2 separate regions of the Homo sapiens genome follow, and region 1 is linked to region 2. Evidence: promoter capture Hi-C in 16 types of primary human blood cells and fetal thymus (Javierre and others, 2016). All regions are on one chromosome and are shown on one strand. The core of a region is centred on a gene start or on the middle of the fragment in contact, and the rest is flanking DNA. Distances in the headings are between cores, read along the strand shown.

What was found. The method cuts DNA at HindIII sites, captures the fragments that hold promoters and counts their contacts. A CHiCAGO score of 5 or more calls a contact.
Region 1: a fragment that was not itself captured here is called in contact with the fragment with the promoter of CENPF in region 2 in 1 of 17 cell types (fetal thymus); the score reaches 9.6 in fetal thymus.

Annotation. Positions count from the first base shown.
Region 1 is chr1:212,031,868-212,037,675 of GRCh38, reverse strand. It overlaps INTS7 (integrator complex subunit 7), which reads left to right and starts at 2,119. Exons shown (of 20, transcript NM_015434.4): 1 at 2,119-2,332. The coding sequence starts at 2,239. It overlaps DTL (denticleless E3 ubiquitin protein ligase adapter), which reads right to left and starts at 1,928. Exons shown (of 15, transcript NM_016448.4): 1 at 1,734-1,928. The coding sequence starts at 1,785. RefSeq lists enhancers at 1,109-1,643, 1,659-1,898, 1,644-2,180, 2,059-2,268. The HindIII fragment of the contact is 1,190 bases long and covers 2,205-3,394 here.
Region 2 is chr1:214,600,077-214,605,550 of GRCh38, reverse strand. It overlaps CENPF (centromere protein F), which reads right to left and starts at 2,356. Exons shown (of 20, transcript NM_016343.4): 1 at 2,230-2,356. It also overlaps the pseudogene ABHD17AP3. RefSeq lists a silencer at 2,253-2,462. The HindIII fragment of the contact is 1,274 bases long and covers 1,820-3,093 here.

The sequences.
Region 1 (5,808 bases), core at 1,550-4,049, 2.6 Mb after region 2:
ATAGCACACAATTATTTCAACATTTAATATTAAAAGTACTTTGAGTCTTTCTTTAGAAGTTCGGTGGTGTTTGTGTGACCAAAATATGCCACTGAAACAATTCTTATTTATATCAAGTAGCCTATGGTAGAGTTAGTTTAGTTATACACTGTTTTCCCTAAAGTCACAGTTTCCAAGAGCCTATCTAGACATTAAGTGAGGACTTACTATATAAGTAACAGAAGGTTGTATGTATGTAGAAGTGGAAGAAGCCCTGGTTGTGGCTGTGATCATCCAAAGGAGTAGGTAGAAGAAGAAAAGGGGTCAAGGATGGAACACCAACACTGAAGAGGAAAGGAGATGATTCTATAGATTTCATATAATAACGAATGAATTTCAGTGACTATTATGTAACAACGAATGAGTACTTGAGAATAGGAAAGAGGGAAGGGAAAGGTAAACACATGGAGAATTAGGAGAAAATCTGTCACAAAATAGAGGCTGAACAGCTCCCCCAGAACACACATATAGTAAGGTGTGGAAGTATAATAAAACCCAGGCAGTTTAACTTCAAAGACAGAGTTCTTAGCCACTGTGCGTACTGTCACTCTTAAACAGAGGACAAAGAAGTTACTCAAACAAGGTCCCAGGAGAGACAGAAAGAGGAGCATTTAAGTATAATTACAAAGATTATCTAAGAGGGAAATAAATAAGGATGGTATAAAGTTTCAGACTGCTAGCAGGAAGTTGAGGGACTACTTCTCAGTCTCTTTCTCAATATTATTTTCCTAGACTCATCGCTGAATATAAAAATTCCCTTCTCAGGTTCGTTTTCCACATAGTTTCAAGGGGAAAAAGAACCTCTGGCTATAGTCGACCTTCACATGAGTGAGATTTTATTTCTGTCCAAGGTTAATCTGGGTAGTTAGCTCCCTTATCTGAAACTTACCAAAAAGTTTAAGTTGATGACATCCAAATCTAACCTCAAATCTCTTATTGCCAATGTTTTAGCGTAAGAAAATAAGTTAGATTTCTACGTATTAACATGGGAATACGTTCAACTTATACCATTAAAGTGAAAAAACTGGACGTTTTGATCCGATTTCTGAAAATAATAGGTATTACCTCTAGCGTCGAAAACATCTGGAATAATATACTTCAATCTATTAACAGGGGTCATCTCTGGCGGATGTGGTTACAGGCATCTTTCACTCTATAATTTAAATTTTTATGACCGTGTAGTAAACGGGGAAAATAAGATTTTGTTCCTGTTAGAAGCAGATATCCTGTCTTCTCTGCTTGACTGAGTTCCTTAACAGCGGGTCATATTCACTGGTATATACCTATAGCACATAGCTGGGCTCACTAAGATTCTACAACAAACGAATGAATTAATCAATGATTAGGAGTTTTGAGCATCTCAAATAACCGTTGAAGGAAACATATACACACAAATGCATGCATTTTCCCGTTAACGCGCAATGGAGATGTAAGCTGTAAGGGGCCTTGGAAGGCAGTTATTTCGACGTCCCTGCCTACGTTACGATTTTAAAAGCCCGATTACGATTACAAGTGTCCCGAGGGGATGAAAGTACAGCTTTCTTTAGTAGTCCCTGCTAACACTAATTTACCCTTGCCATGGGAGAACTCAGAAGCTGAGTTCAGAATTGGAGTCGGCCCTGGTCGGAGGTGGCGTGTGTTTCGGGGGAAATGAATTCCGCCAGCTCCGAGCAGCGGTTGGGACCGTTACTCACCATTTCTCAGGACGCCAAGCTGGGGCTGGCGGAGCACCGAATTGAAGAGCATCAGGGTCGGAGGAAAAGCCTCAGCTGAGAGAAAAGTCGTAGAAATGCCTCCAAGTTCAGCAGAAATCGCAGCTTGCGCCTCTCACAACACAAATCGTTATCGCCTCCAACTCCCGCCACTGTAAGCCCCGGCCGCCAAACTCCGCGCCAAACTGACGTCACGCTCTCTGATTGGCTTCCGAGCGACGTCCGGGCGCCTCAGAGTCATTTCCCCCTTCGGATCCCCGCCTCCTTTTCTCCCAGCCGCGGGAACCTGGAGTCCAAGAGCTCCTTGAGCGCCTGCGCAGGGGGTAGCAGAGGCGCGGACAAACCGCGGGGTGACCAGGGCGCATGCGTAACAGGGCTTGACAGCGCGCGGAAGAAAAACCAGCAAGAAGGCGGCGGGGGAAGATGGCGGTCCTGGGGTAGAGTTTGCAAGCTTTCTGACTAGGCTAGTCGAGTAACTATTCGGGTCATGGCGTCAAACTCAACTAAGTCTTTCCTGGCAGATGCCGGCTATGGCGAACAGGAACTGGATGCCAACTCTGCCCTTATGGAATTGGACAAAGGTATTCGAAAGAGAGGGCTGAATGGGTGAAACAGGCGTGGGGGGAAGTGGCGCCACCAGGTGGTGGTTGCTTTGGGAGAAGACGGATAGGCGCATGCGCATGTCTTCGCTGGGCGGGGAGCGCCTGTGCTTTTGCTGGGGCGTGGGCTTTGACCCCTTCGGGAGGTTGCGGGAAATTTGCAGGATTGTGTGACTGGCCTTATACCGGCTAAACAAGTAGCGAGCTCTAGTGAGAGGCCCGTTTTGACCACTTGAGGGAGCAGTCCCCCGATTTTCTAAGCAGTGACAGTGGCTAGTTTCTAAGAGACACTGCAAAGAAATTGTGAAATTGGTTTTCAGTCTGTTCAGTTGAGACCAGGTCTTCATGAAATGTGCTGAATAGTAATCTTGCACCGACTTGACAGCGATTCATTTGATTTCCATAGCTCTGTTACCTGCGGGTTACAAGGCAGGCTAAACCTGGCCAAGACCATAAAAAAGCAAGGGCCCTGCTCATTCTCTGCGGACAAGTTCCAGGAGTTCTGTTGCCGTACAGGGAGCAGCTTGGTGTAGAGGGAGCTTTGGGGTTACACTGAGTTAAGTTTCAATGCCGCTGATTTTATGATTAACTTCATCTAGCCTCGGCTTGTCGTCTGCAAAGTGGGTACAGTACCATTGAGCCGGCAGAATTGTATTAAGTGACTTAATGGTATGCAAAAGAAGCATTTAGTAAATGCTGAAGAGATATACCTCCCTTCTTAGATGTGGATATGGGAGGCAAGGTCGGAAATTTGTTAGTAAAGAACTCGACTAGTAATATGAAACCTTTATTTCATATTGAGGATTTTTATTGTACGGGAAACATTTCGGCAGCTGGTATACAATTAAATCTTGATTAATCGTAGCCAATATATAATGTTGGAGAACTGGACTAGAACTCAGAAGGGTTTGAGCCACTTCCCAGTTTTCTGAGTTGGACATGTCTATTAACTTTTTTGGGACTCTTTTTCTGTTTATTTTTTAAACTGTGAATATTTTTAGTGGGTTAGTCTAAATAAGAGTTTCTCAGGCTCTTAAAAAAGCTTTTACCTTATTTTGATAAACACAAAAATTTCACAGCCCCCTAATGGGATATTCCTTTGGTTGAGTCTCAGTATCTTTAGTGCACCCCCATCAACCAAGAAAATTATGTTGAACTTTTCCTTCTCTTACCAAATCTTTAGGGGTTTTCTCCTCTGAAAAAAAAAAGTATAATACTAAATGTGTTTTTCTCTTTTTTTTTGGAGACAGAGTGTTGCTCTGTTGCCCAGGCTAGAGTGCAGTGGCGCCATCTCGGCTCACTGCAACCTCCGCCTCCCGAGTTCAAACGGTTCTCCTGCCTCAGCCTCCCGAGTAGCTGGAATTACAGGCGCCCGCCACCACGCCCGGCTAATTTTTGTATTTTTAGTATAGACGGGGTTTCACCATGTTGGCCAGGCTGGTCTCCAACTCCTGACCTCAGGTGATCCGTCCGCCTCGGCCTTCCAAAGTGCTGGGATTTACAGGCATGAGCCACCGCGCCCGGCCTTAAATGTGTTTTTCAAACACTTTCCTCCTCATTCTGATACATTTCTTTCTTATTCCTCAGTGAAAGTTACAGGTCAGGATAATATCTAATATCCCTACGAGTTCTAAGGACATTTTCTACCATTCTGGTGCAGCTGAGCTTGTCTCATGCTGACAATAGGATAGTGGTTGTGGAACAGGGATAAAGATGGGGCACTGAAGAGGAGTCTAGAATGGTTTAATTCCTCAAATTTTGCAGTTGTAAGAAAAAAACCACAATTTTTCCTTTTTAAAGAAGAGTTGAAATGAAAATATTTTATATCTATAGGAAAGAAATCAGGTGTCAATCTTAGACACAGAGTAAGTGATCATTTGCACTCCTCCCAGCAATGCCTGGCGTGAGTGTTTTACAGGTGAATCTCAGGCTCAGAAAGATGACTTGTTCTTTTTCATCTCATCTGTAGTAACTTTTAAAGCTGTTAGGAAATTAAGTTATAGAAATAGCCAGTTTCGTGTAGAATATAGTTGAGTATTTTAAATATTGAGTCATTTCATCTTGTACCTGTTAAAGTATTTCTGTTTTGTGAGCTAAAGGTCAGAAGGCTACAAGTTCCAACTCTTTTTTTCGTTCCCAAACTCCAAGGAATACTGTTTCTGAAATATCTCCCCCACCTCAGCATACACACTCAGACACATGACTTATTTGATCGGGCTTTGTACTAGGAACATGGCAGTTAATGAGACAAAACTCCTGCCCCTATAGAGCTTACATTCTAGACAGCAGATGCAGACACTCCGCAAATATAGCAAACGTGACAGTTAGTGATACATATTATAAAGGAAAATGAAGCAATGAAAGGGACTGGAGAAAACTGATCTGGGGCTGGAGTTGATTTCTTATTTTATGAAGTATAGGCAAGAAAGACCTCCTCAATCAAGTGGAAGAACAGCAAGTACAAAGGCCCTGAGGTAGAAGCCTCCTTTGCATGCAGTTATCTGGAGCAAAGTAATAGGCAATGAGTATAGAAAGATAACCAGAGTCAGTCGGGCGTGGTGGTTCACGCCTGTAATCCCCGCACTTTGGGAAGCTGAGGCGGGCGGATCACGAAGTCAGGAGATCGAGACCATCCTGGCTAACATGGTGAAACCCTGTCTCTACTAAACAAAATACAAAAAATTAGCCAGGCGTGGTGGTGGGCACCTGTAGTTCCAGCTACTTGGGAGGCTGAGGCAGGAGAATGGCGTGAACCTGGGAGGCGGGGCTTCCAGTGAGCCGAGATCACACCACTGCACTCCAGTCTGGGCAACAGAGCAAGACTGTCTCGAAAAAAAAAAAAGAAAGATAACCAGAGTCCCGTTCAGGTAGGGCCGTGCAAGCCATCAAAAGGACTGGCTTTCATTCTGAGTGAGAAAGGAAACCATGGAGGATTTTCAGCAGGTGTGTGACATGATCTGACTTTCCTTTGAAAAGTATCAGTCTGGCTACTGTGCTGAGAATAGACTGAAGTGGGGAGGGTCAGGGACCCAAGTAGGGAGACCAATGAGAAGGCAACTATAACAATCCAGGGAAAAGAAAATAGTGGCTTAGACCGAGATGGTGACACTGAAAATGTGTGAAGTGCTGAGATTCTGGATATACTTTCAAAGTAGAGCCAAGAAGATTTGCTAATGGATTAGATGAGGATATAAGAGTAAGTGGTCAAGAAAACTTAGAGGTTTTTGGTATGAGCTACTGGGAGGATGTATGTATTGTTTACTGAAATCAAATCAGTTTGGGTCATGTTAAATTTGAGATGTCTCTTAGACATCCAAATGGAGATGATTAGTCAGTTAGGCATAAGATGTAACCTTTGAACGCTATTTTAAAGAAATATTTTGTGGCACTGGTGTCCTTAGAAACACACTCAGGAAATGCTGCCATTCATAACCTGTTATATATTTATAACTGTTGTA
Region 2 (5,474 bases), core at 1,107-3,606:
TGTGGACGATGTACAGGCAACAGAGCTACGCACTCCTTTCCTTTTGGAAGCAAGAAGAAAATACGTGAAAACAGAAATTAAAGATTTAAAATTTAAAAAAAAAAAAAAACAAAGCGGATTCTTCTAGCTCAGGCACTTACGGATGTATGACCTTGGGCAAGTTATTTAGCTGCTCTATGCCTTGTTTCCCTTGTTTGTAAAATGAGGATAATAATGATGGTGACTTCCTAAGGCCTTAGAAACAGTAAGCTTTCCTGGTAAGCTTTCCATATATGTTAGCTATTACATACTTTTTAAAAACACTTTTTCACTTGTATATTTCAGCCTATGGTACAAAGGGTGAAGTGGCCTACCTCCTTCTCAGCCACATCTTAGGAAATAGAAATCAGCTGGAAGAAAATATAGCAACTTTCCTTTATTTTAGCCTTCAGAACATAAACAAAAAGAAAAATCATTCATTTTCCAGTTACTTAGGCAAGAGTTTGAGAATTTGTTTTTTTACTAAATAAAGTTAACGGCCATTTTAATGGTTTTTTTCAATCGATTTTATCAATGAAACTTTTTATCAAAACAATAAGCAGTTCATGAAAGTACTAAGAACAATAAAAAAAATTAAGAGGGAGAAGCAAAGGTCTTAGACAACATATAAGTTGGATATCAAAGCCCTGGAAAGCTGTGTTTTGCTACCAGTTTTGTTTTTTTTTCTAGCTCTCAGTTCTTGGAACACAGCATCTTGTATTCCACTCCCATTTATCCCAAAACTACTGAAAGGAGTCACATGCCTCTCAACCAACAAAGGACAACTGACCCTGTCTCAATATCCTCCATTCCAATCTAGTTTGTCAGGAGTCAAAGAACTGTACCCAGAGACACACAACTGTAATTGCCCTAAACAATTCAGCCAGCAACTGAAATCATTACATCAAGATGCTATAGCCAACAGAATATAAAAAGGAGCAATTTAGAAAGATGATTAGAAAATGAGGGGAATAAACATAAAGAAGACTGGCAAGCTGAATGCTTTTCCATTCCAAAGTCTAAGATAGAGAACAATATAGATGTAGACCAAGCTAACTGTGATTAGAGCAGATTTTGGCCCATTAAGGGATCAGCTATCAGCCACCTGTATTGGGCCATTGGGGCAAAAGAACAAAAAAATAAACCCAGAAGTTTACTTTTGAGGAACAGGGAATCGAGGTGGGGAGTGAAGAAAAGCCCTGGATGAAGGTTCCTGCATGGAGGACTTGCAGGACTATTGTCCTTTCCAGAAAATGCTGTATCTTTATCTCTTAAATACGTGGAGGGCACTCTTCATGCCCGAACTACCCAGTCCCTTAGTCCCCAAGGAAGCTCTTGTGTGACCTCCTCCTGCCCCACCTCCACCACTGCTTTCCCGTTGTCAGAATTCCCCACCTCCTCCAAAAAGCCAGAGTCCCCGTGCACTGTACCAAGGCTGGGTCTGAGAATGATAACCCTGCCTTCTCCTCTAGGTCAGGCTCAAGGACACGACCCATGCCTTTTATTTCTGGGTCCTCATTACACAGCCGAGCCGGGCACACAGGCGCGTTCAAATAAATGTGGAAGGGAGGACCGGGCGTAGTGGCTCATGCTTGTAATCCTGGCACTTACAGAGGCCAAGGCGGGAGGATCCCTTGAGCCCAGGGGTTCCAGACCAGCCTAGGCAATATAGGGAGGCCTATCTCTATTTAAAAAAAGAAAAAAAAAAATGTGGACGGGAGGAAGAAGAGAGGGGAAAGAGAAATGCTCGCGTAACTAACCATAGGCACCCCACGTCGCCAACCAGATCAAAACTCAAGCTTACATCTACTCAATAAAACAAAGGACCAGGGCCTGAATTTCAATAAGGTTGGTTACGGGACTGGGAAGGCGGCTTGGAAATACCTAGTCATCTCCAATTCTTTTACGGAGGAAGAAAATGATCCCCTAAAGTGTGAGTCCGTGACCGAGTAGGGTCTGGGACACTAATCCGAGACCAGTTTGAACCCGAGCAGAAGGGCGCAGACACCCCTACGAACCACATCCCGGGGCGGATTCTCCAGTTCGGTCGGGTGGGAGGGGGCGGTCCCCGGCACCTACAGGGCCGGGAGAGTGATCCCAGAGGCCTCCCCGCCCAGTACCCGCCGGCAAAAAGCCAGCGGCACCCCCACGCCGCCCGCCGCCTACCGCCCGCCGCCAGGGCCAGGATCCGGACCCAGTCAGGACGCTCACCTTGCTCTCGGGGACGGGAAAACGACCTCTCGGAGAGTACAGTTCTGGCGCGGCTTCGGCGGGCTGGAGCCCAGAGTCTAATTCAAACTGCCCGCAGCCGCCACCGGTGCCCAATTCGCCCGCTTCTGGTCTCAACCAAACTTACCTCCACGCCTATTGGTCACTCTAAGTAGCTGCGGACCAATCCGCGCCTGCGCACTCAGACTGCCGCGTCTGATTGGCCCTTTCGGATGGATTTTAAAAACAAGCCCTCTACTGGAGGTGCCTGCGCCGGAGTTTACTGTTCTTTTTTGTTGTTGCGGGGAGACGGAGACCACGTGCTTTTGCTAATGCTAGACGCGGTTTTGGACCGCTATTTCCGCAAAAGTCAGGGAATGCGCCCGCTGATTAGGAAGGCGTGGTCTATCGCCTACAGCCAGGGGAACTGTGCTGCCTGGTGAAACCTCTTTTAAACTGCACGTACCAATCTACTTAATTAAACGTAAATTTAGGACATAGATACTAGGTGCTGTGTTTGTCATGCATTCTTTATCCGGTGTCGTTCTTAACAATTCTTTGAGGAAAGTATTATCCTCATTTTATTAAAAAGTTAACAGGCTCATAGAAGCTAAGTACAGTAATTTGAAATTGAATCTACGCAATGCAGGATGTCGCTCTTAAATGCTGTCCTTTATGGTTCATATTTCTAAGACGTGATTCTGAACACTTATTTTCCGGGATTAAGGCGTGGGGGGAGGACACTGCATCAGAATTTAAAATTCAGAAGAATCCTCAAAACGGGGTGTAATGCTTTTCGTGAAGCCCACTAGTTTTCTATGTATGTTATATACTCGTTTTATTTCCCTATTAAACTATAAATAAGCTTCTAAAGGCAGAAGCAAAACAATTAATTGTTAAAGTAATAGATCTCTAATGCTGTTGTCTGCCTCAATAGGTACCAAACTTTCCAGCCCCCTGACTTTACCTTTCATTAGACTGTTCCTGCAGTACCCAATTCAAGTGTCACTTTTTTTATAAAACCTCCCTAATCCCACCCACTCCTTAGAGATAATTATTTCCTAGACCTTTCCTGGAACTTGCAAACTTCATGTTTAGGATTTTCGCCGTGTCTTGTCTTGTATTTATGTCTACGTCTGACTCCCCCATCAGACTCAAAAATTCCTTTACAGTAAAATCTGTTTTAATTCATTTTTGCATCCCTAGTAACTTTGCACATAGTAATTTAAAATCCAGATCATCTTGGGAGATAAAACTGCTATTTGGGGAAAGGCCTTGTTCTTACTATCTTCTACCTTCGAATCCCCAAAGGGAGGGGAGAGAGCAGGTAGGGGAGGAAAACTTTTGTCAGACATTGCCATGATCAGTCTAGTGTCTGGTAGTTTTAGAATTTGAACCAAATTGTGTCTGGCTTCAACACAAATTACAATTCCATTGCTTCCCAGAGTAATTATTCAACTATGTATAGGCTGTTTAAGGAAAAATAAACAGCTAGAAAGACAGATAATAGAGGATATTTTTAAGGTTTGAATAAGAAATTTGCATTTACTATTCATTCATTCGTTCTTCAGCAGATATCTATTGAGTGGCCACTGTATAGTCAAGCCTTGTGCTTCGTTTTTCTACAATGAACAATAAAGAAATACATTCATTTCTTGAACAAGGGAAATAGGATGGATACCATTCTAGTAACTCCTGTGATATTTCTCTGACTTTAATTTTATGCTTCCCTTCCCCTCCCTTTATTTTTCCCCCGGTTGGTTTGTTTGTTTTGTAGGGGGAGGATCCCGTCCAACCAAAGACAGATGTTCTCTAAGGGTCCATTTTTGGCTCTCTGCTCTTCTCTTTTTAAGTCCTTTCCCTCAGTTAGCCAGTCTACTCTCTCTGGATTGTTCATCCACTACCTCGATATTCTGCTTGTGGACCAGTGTCTTTGAGTCTTCCCATCTTTTCTACAGATTAGACTGCAGGTTCATCACTGAAATCACTCTTTTGCCAGTGTCCTCAACTCCCTTGCCTCTTGTTCTATCTCCCAAACTTGTATGTGTGCAAATGTCCATATCATCCCTTGGTGCACTATTGCTGCAGAATGGGGCTGGAAAAAAATCCCAGCACTGTGCAAATACTTTAAATGTAGGATGTCTAGCTGGGCCTCAATGCTGCTCCACAGCCCTTTCTCCCAGTTTCAGGATTTCTCTAATCCGCTGCAACAACCATCTCCATTCTTACTCTCAGAAGATGACTTTATTTTCTAGTTCACAGAAAACATAAGATTTCTGACAGGAACACCTTCAACTTTCTGAGACCCAAATCTACAAATGTGTGAAAATCTATACCCATTCTTACCTCCTTTCTTCCTGTTACAACCATGGGAAATGTCTTTCTGACTACTCCTAAAACTGAACAATCATACTGTGTTTTGAGGCAACTTGCTTCTCAGGAACTTCACTCTCCCAGTTATGCACTTGTAAACAAGAATCTTTAACTGCTTCTACCTTCCTAAGTCTTCCTAGTAGCACTTAAACTGCTCAAATATTTCCCTTTAAAGAGAAATATTTTCTCAATCTCATGATCCCCTGAAGGAATCATCATATCTCCCCTCACATTCCATTTCCTTTTCAGATTTGATTAAATAAGTTGCGATACTACTTTTCATCAATTATTTTTCTCCAAAAAAACCCCACGAGTACTTTCAATAAATGAGAGCCGTCTCTATAGCTGCATCATGAAGACAATATAATCTATTATTTTAAGCAGCAGTTTACTTTTCATTTCATATTATTTTTCATCTTATTAGAACTGTAAATATTTTATAATTACACGATTTTATTTTTTTATCTATTCTGAAATTTTCTTTTCTTTCCTTGAGATGGAGTCTGGCTCCGTCACCCAGGCTGGAGTGCAGTAGCACAATCTCGGCTCACTGCAACCTCTGTCTCCCGGGTTCAAGCGATTCTCCTGCCTCAGCCACCCGAGTAAATGAGATTACAGGCACGCACCACCACGCCCAGCTAATTTTTGTATTGTTAGTAGAAACGAGGTTTCACCATGTTGGCCAGGCTGGTCTCGAACTCCTCACCTCAAGTGACCCACCAGCCTCAGCCCCCAAAGTGCTGGGATTACAGGTGTGAGCCACTGTGCCCGGCCTGAAAATCTGTATCCTTTTTTTTTTGAGACAGTTTTGCTGCGTCGCCAGGCTGGAGTGCAGTGGCAAATCTCGGCTCACTGCAACCTCTGCCTCCCAGGTT